Linked DNA regions of Homo sapiens: region 1 is linked to region 2. Evidence: promoter capture Hi-C in human tissues and cell types (Jung and others, 2019). All regions are on one chromosome and are shown on one strand. The core of a region is centred on a gene start or on the middle of the fragment in contact, and the rest is flanking DNA. Distances in the headings are between cores, read along the strand shown.

Region 1 (3,519 bases), core at 780-3,279, 520 kb before region 2:
TTTAGCCGGCTTCTTTACTGCAAACTGTTTTATCAGCAACGTCTTTATGGCCTGTATCTTGTGCTGACCTCCTATCTCATCCTGTGACTTAGAATGTCTTCACTGTCTGGGAATGCAGCTCAGCCTCATTTTATCCAACCCCTATTCAAGACGGAGTTGCTCTGTTAAACACTTCTGACAGCTGTGGTTTCTTCCCACAAAGAGGTTGCAGATGGGGTTAGGTTCTTGTTCTGCCAGCTTGGCTCCTTCCCAATTCCTGTTAACTTACTGATTTATTAGGGCCCCATAGATTAGAAATTATCATTTAGGAGTCATGCAGCCAGGGGCCACAAGACTGTAAACATCCCCAGTTGTTCCTAGGGATGGTATCACCATTGCAAAAGCTAAGATTGGTGCTGGAGATATTTTTCAGACCCTGAACTTGATGGATCTGATGGCACCACTCAGATGGGTAAACTGGCTTATCTGGTCTTGTGCCTCCCTCTCCCCCAGAACCCACTCAGCACAAGAGAACAACTTTGACTCCCTATGATTTCATCTCCAACCCAACCAATCAGCATTCCCCAATTCATGGCCCCCTATCTACCAAATTATCCTTAAAAAACCCCAGTCTCAGGAGGCGGAGGTTGCAGTGAGCTGAGATCGTGACATTGCACTTCAGCCTGGGCAACAGGAGCAAAATTCTGTCTCAGAAAACAAACAAACAAATAAACAACAACAACAACAAAAAACCCCAGTCTCGCAATTTTCAGGGAGACTGATTTGAGTAATACTAGTAAGACTCCAGTATGCTGTTCATCCAACTCTGTGTGAATAAAACTCTTTTTCTTTTGCAATTTCCCTGTCCTGATAAATTGGCTTTATCTGGGCAGTAGGAAAAATGAACCCTCTGGGTGTTTACACGTTCATTTTAACAATACAATAATGGTTATTAATCTTTGCATTAATCTTTGCTTCCAGTGGAAGAATTTTGCATCTGAAGGACCATCTGAAATGATAGGTGAATTTGGATCTGTAGCCTTTGGGAACATCTACACTAACTCTGAAATAATATTTTTCCATACACTAGGGTAATCAGTTACAGCCAATAACCCCAAGAAATCTCAATGTGAGTTCTAAGGAGAGGCAGGATGATCCTCTGCCTAGGAGAAAGATCTGCAATCTTTTATTTATTTTTTTATTTTTATTTTTATTTTTTTTTCCAACATGGAGTCTTGCTGTGTCACCCAGGCTGGAGTGCAGTGGCAGGATCTCACTCACCGCAACCTCTGACTCCCATGTACAAGAGATTCTCCTGCCTCGGCCTCCCCAGTAGCTGGGATTACAGGCGCATGTCACCATGTGGGTTAATTTTTGTATTTTTAGTAGAGGCGGGGTTTCACCATGTTGGCCAGGCCAGTCTTGAACTCCTGACCTCAGGTGTTCCACCTGCCTCGGCCTCCCAAAGTGCTGGGATTACGGGCGTGAGCCGCCCGCACCTGGCCCTTATTTTTATTTTTTAGATAAGAGGTCTCGTTCTGTTGCCCAGGCTGGAATGCAGTGGTACGATCTCGGCTTACAGCAGCTTCGAACTCCTGAGCTCAAGCGATTCTCCCTCCTCAGGCTCCCTAACCCTAACCCCAACCTTAGGGCAGCTGGGACCACAGGCCCGCCCGACCACACTCCGCTAATATTTTTTATTTTTTGTAGAGACAGGATTTTGCTTTGTTGCTCAGGCTAATTTCTAACTCCTGACCTCAAATGATCCTTGTGACTTGGCCTCCCAAACTGGTGGAATTACAGGCGGGAGCCACCATACCAGTCAGGACGCACATCTTAAGGATACTCCCGAGGTGAAGCTGGGCTTTTCCTGCAGAAGCGCCTCTGGGAATTGCGCCCTTTACCCTCCTTGTTGCCTAGGGAACTACATTACCCAGAAAACTCAGCCTCGAATGATAGCGTAGAAGACCTCTGAGGGCTCAGAATAAAGGCGTTTCCTGTGTGCACGTGACAATGGGTCCGGACTTCCGGCGCCCTCTGGTGGCGGCCATTTTGATTGGTGTTGGATTTATTTGTAGGAGAGGCTCCTGAGCGCTAGGTCCGCACTGTGGTGACTGAACCCAGAAGTCGGGGAGCAGTTGTCCTCCGCTGCACAGAGGCTACTCTGGAGCTCTGTGACGGCGCCCAGCGTGACCCACTCCTGGGCCAGGATACGGACCGTCGTGCCCATATCTCCTGGCTGGTCGCCCTATCCTCCCGACTCTGCTTAAAACCACGTGGTTCGATGGCTGCCGCGGCTACGCTGAGGCTCTCCGCTCAGGTAATTGTGGGGCCTTCTGTGTCCTCAGGTCACCTCATCGTCACCCAAAAGCAGCGAGGTAGCAGCGCCTGTTCACGGCTCTGCAGCCCGGACGCCGGCGTTGGGACACTGAGGCGCTTGCGGGAGGGGCCCCATTTCTGACACCCGTGGGATGCGGTGGGGAGACCGGCAGGTACAGGGACTGGCGCGGGCAAAGGCCTGGAAGTGAACTGAGCCAGAAGGATGGAATCTGGGGTCCACAGGTGCCTGTTGGGAGCAAATTATGAGGCGGAGCTCCTCCTGGAAGAGCAAGCAGGCTGGGGGCTATGAACTCACGTGAGGACCCTAGAAGGCATGGAGATTTTCGAAGAAAGGAGGGATGTCATGAGCATTGTAAGGGTAGAGATAATCAGGTCCATGCATGTTTGTGTCTTTGCACAGTGTCAGGTGATATTTGAGTCAACAAAAGCCATGAGCTAAATGGAGTTCGAAGGAGGCAATTCTCTTGTGATTCCAGTTCACTTGGTAGTTGGCCATGGGCACAGAGGCTGAAGACACTCCCCAAGTCAGTCAATATAGCAAACAATACACAATAGTATACTTAACATGTAAATGTTAAAGGTTAAACATAACACTGTTGTACCCGGGCGAGTTAGAAAAACGCCACACTTTGAGACGAATTAAGAGTCCTTTATTCAGCTGGCGGCCAAAGAGACGGCTAACGCTCAAAATTCTCTCGGCCCCGAGGAAGGGGCTTGATTAACTTTTATACTTTGGTTTAGGAAGGGGAGGGGAGCTTAAATGCAACAACTCTTCAGAAGTAAAAACATGCAAAAAATTAAAAGGATAAATGGTTACAGAGAAACAAACAATTTAAAAGACAAATGGTTACAAAAAGGCAAGGTACCAGGTGTGGCGCTCTAAATCCTTCATAAGAGTTAGATATGGGCACTACGCCAGACACAAACTCAAGGCTTTATGGTGTTATCTTTTGAGCAAAATCCTGGGAACTTCATACATGGTTTGTTCCCAGTCCCTTATCAGTTAATTGGACTCCTTTGATATGTTGAGAATCTGCTTACACAAGTTAACTCCTTGAGGAAAGGGGGGTGGGTAAGGAGTCCTTAATGTCTTGTAAATCAAGGGGGCCAGGTGGAGCTCGTCTGGCTTTCTCAGCTAAGCGAGAGTCTATTCATGTGGAAACGAGGCTAGGTGATTAAGAGAGCAAAAGGGAGAGTCTA
Region 2 (3,483 bases), core at 984-3,483:
GCTGCCTTCAGGTAAAAGGAGACAACACAGCCCAACCCAGGACACTGGGCAAGTGTGAGGGCCTTACCTAGTGAGGACAAAAGGGCCAAATTCTCCAGCATCACATCACGGTACAGCAATCTCTGAGCCTCATCGAGATGCCCCCACTCCTCCTGGGAGAAATATATGGCCACGTCTTCAAAAACCACATGACCCTGCCAAATTGGGAAAGATGAATACATGAGCAGCTTTTCAAACTGTATTTACTTAAGTTCTCTATTTATTTTCTACTTATATTTACCACCCATTAAACACAGGGACAAACTAACAGCTAAATGTGTTTCCATCTCCCCTACCATCCTGGGCACATATTCTTAACCATCTCCATCTCTAACTTTCTCAAACCAAGTCAGTATTTCCCATGCTCTAAATCAACCCAGGGACAGGTACTGCACAACTAGGGACAGTCCCAATAGCCCAGGTGTCCTGGAATTACTAAAACTAGCCAAACTATCCTGACAGCCAGCCCTGCCTTGTTTCCCTTGGAAACCCCAACAGCATCTGTGGACTAAACTAAACTCACTCCAATTTTCCTCCTGATCAAATCTGGTGTTTCACCGTGTGGCCCTGTGTTATGTGGTATGTAACCTCCTTAGGGAAACGTAAGGAATAAATATCTTCTTTCAGTGTCATTGGCCTGTCCCTGGCATCACTCACTCACATCCATAAATTAAAACTCCATGGGGGCCAGGCACAGTGGCTCATGCCTATAATCCCAGCACTTTGGGAGGCTGAGGCGGGCAGATCACCTGAGGTCAGGAGTTCAAGACCAGCCTGGCCAACACAGTGAAATCCCATCTCTACTAAAAATACAAAAATTAGGTGGGCATGGCGGCACATGCCTGTAGTCCTAGCTACTTGGGAGATTGAGGCAGAACTGCTTGAATCCAGGAGGTGCAGGTTGCAGTGAGCCAAGATCATGCCACTGCACTCCAGCCTGGGTGACAACACAGCAAGACTCCATCTAAAAAAAAAAAAACAAAAAACCCCAATGGGTACAATCACTGCTACTTTTCTCTCTCCAGGAACTCATCCCTCTCCCCTACACCTCCTTTCCTTCCTCAATCTCTACACCCTCCCAATGTGGAAGAGAAACCACATCCAGGTGGCATGAGTGACTTTTCTCTCCATATTGACATTGGCCACCGTGTCCAGCACACAGAGGAAACAGATGGAAGATAAGGTAGAAAAGGAATGTGGGCCTCCCGTGGGGGGATCCATCCTCTCCTGCCAGCCAGTTTCCATGGAGTCACCCAGATCTTGCCTCCCAAGACAACCAAACTCAGACTCATCCTCCTCCCTTGAGCTACCAGGGCCAGGGCCTGAGGCCCTCCATTCACACTCCTCCTGCCTGCACATCACTCTTTGGACAGCACTCCAATCCCATCTCTCACACCTCCACTCCAGTCAATTCCACAGACACCTCCCAGCCCACACCACAGGCATTTCCTTCACCTCCTAACAGGCCACTCTGCACACAGAAACCAGGTGGTGCACGGCAAATACGCTCAGCATCCAATTCACTCCCAGTCCTGCCCCAGAACACCAAAGTTCCCTAGCACCGGGGGCAGCCCTAAGCCCTGGGTTGAAGGTTCCCTACATGGCCCTGTTTCTCACTTCACTGTCAGGTGCCCAAACCATGTGAGGACTTCACATACTCTCAGCTGTGTCCTGCCTCATGGACACAGGATTGTAAGTTTCCTGAGGCCTCCGAGTTATGCTTCCTGTTAAGCCTGAAGAACTATGGGCTGGGTGCGGTGGCTCACGCCTGTAATCCCAACACTTTGGGAGGCTGAGGAGGATGGATCACGAGGTCAGGAGATCAAGACCATCCTGGCCAACATGGTGAAAGCCCATCTCTACTAAAAATACAAAAATTAGCTGGGCGTAGTGGGGTGAGTCTGTCGTCCCAGCTATTCAGGAGGCTGAGGCAGAAGAATCGCTTGAACCTGGCAGGGAGAGATTGCAGTGAGCCGAGATTGTGCCACTGCACTCCAGCCTGGGCCACATCTCAAAAAAAAAAAAAAAAAAAAAAAAGAACTGTGAGTCAATTAAACTTCTTTTCTTCATAAAGTACCCAGTCTCAGGTAGTTCTTTGTAGCAATATGAAAACAGACTAATAGAATTCCCATCCTCATCTCATTCCAACTGATGCTTAGCAACTCTCCGACCTCACCCTATTACCCTCCTCAGCAACCCCATCATGTCCACTCTCCTTCAGAAGTCTTTCTCACTCCTATACCCCACCATCTCACATACACTCATCCCCACAAACACTCCATTCCCTCATTTGTCTAGTGACTCCTCCACCACTGCACAGCTACCCAGTAAGAGACCCAGTTCTCATGCCCCATTCCAATTCTCTGTCTTCGAACAGCACTGCCACCATAACCTAGAGATGCTGTCACCTAAACTGAATCCATGGCTTCATCCTGGTCCATACGACAGCCACCATAGTGTGGACGTCTCCAACCTGAACTCCTCCACCAGGAGTCTCTGAGACATCTGTGGCTTGAACAAACACTGACTCCTCACACTCACTCTGAAAATTCCTAATACTGCTGACTTCTCCCATCTTAGCTGATGGAGCATCTATGCTTCCAAACAAAAACCATGGGGCCACTCCTGATTCCCCTTCTATCCCACCCCCCCAGCTGCCTCACTCTCTACATCATAAAATGTGGGCAGCTCCAGTTCAAAACACATCCTGAAGCCACCGCTACTCTTGACAAGTCACCACCAACATCCACCTAGACTGCTGCAGGAACATCCTCTCAGATCTCCCTGCCATTACCCTCACCTCCACAGTCTGTCCTCCACTCAGACGCCAAAGAAAGTTCCTTAAGCTAGGGTCCTATCACTGCCCTCTTCTGCTTCAAATCTTCCCCATCTACCACCTCCCTTAGATTAGAGACCCAGGACCTAGGCTGTCATTCCAGGCCTGATGTTTGTGTGTCTCTAGCCACCTCCCACTCTGCTCCCTATTCCTATCCGATATAACAGACACTTGCAGTTCCCTAAAAATCCAGTTCAGTCTCTCCTCTAAACACTGAAACATTCTTAATCTTGTGCCCATGACACTCTGACAGATGTTACCACGTCAACTGTCAAAAATGGGAGCCACTCCACATAATCCAGGGCCATCCAGGTAAGGTGTCACAGTAAACTTAAAACAATCAAACAAAAATCCCAGACCTAATTTAAGATACTAGAACTGGTGGAATCACTCACTTTTCAGACATAAGAGAGGGAGAAAGACAGAAAGAGAGTCTCTGGACACCACTTTTCTTTACATGGAGGTGCCAAAACCATCTATGAGATAACTGGTAGGTGAAAGGTAGAAAACACTCCACTCACCTGTGCAGGGTTCATTTCTGCCATCGCCAGGGGACCCTGAAGGAAGAGGGAAACCGTGAGAAATGGGCAACGATGGGAAGATCTTAC

What was found. Contacts are between HindIII fragments. The study calls those that stand out against the background at their distance.
Region 1: a contact is called between the fragment with the promoter of ZNF814 here and a fragment that was not itself captured in region 2, in 3 of the 25 tissues and cell types used here (aorta, dorsolateral prefrontal cortex and small bowel).

Annotation. Positions count from the first base shown.
Region 1 is chr19:57,887,547-57,891,065 of GRCh38, reverse strand. ZNF814 (zinc finger protein 814) reads left to right here and starts at 2,029. Exons shown (of 3, transcript NM_001144989.2): 1 at 2,029-2,299. The coding sequence starts at 2,264. RefSeq lists enhancers at 2,319-2,368, 2,042-2,584, 2,585-3,128, 3,153-3,519. The HindIII fragment of the contact is 24,676 bases long and covers 1-3,519 here.
Region 2 is chr19:57,368,493-57,371,975 of GRCh38, reverse strand. It overlaps ZNF547 (zinc finger protein 547), which reads right to left. Exons shown (of 4, transcript NM_173631.4): 2 at 3,397-3,432; 3 at 68-194. The coding sequence starts at 3,420. Among named protein-coding and RNA genes, the nearest start is that of ZNF547, 6.7 kb to the right of the region's middle. The HindIII fragment of the contact is 8,803 bases long and covers 1-3,483 here.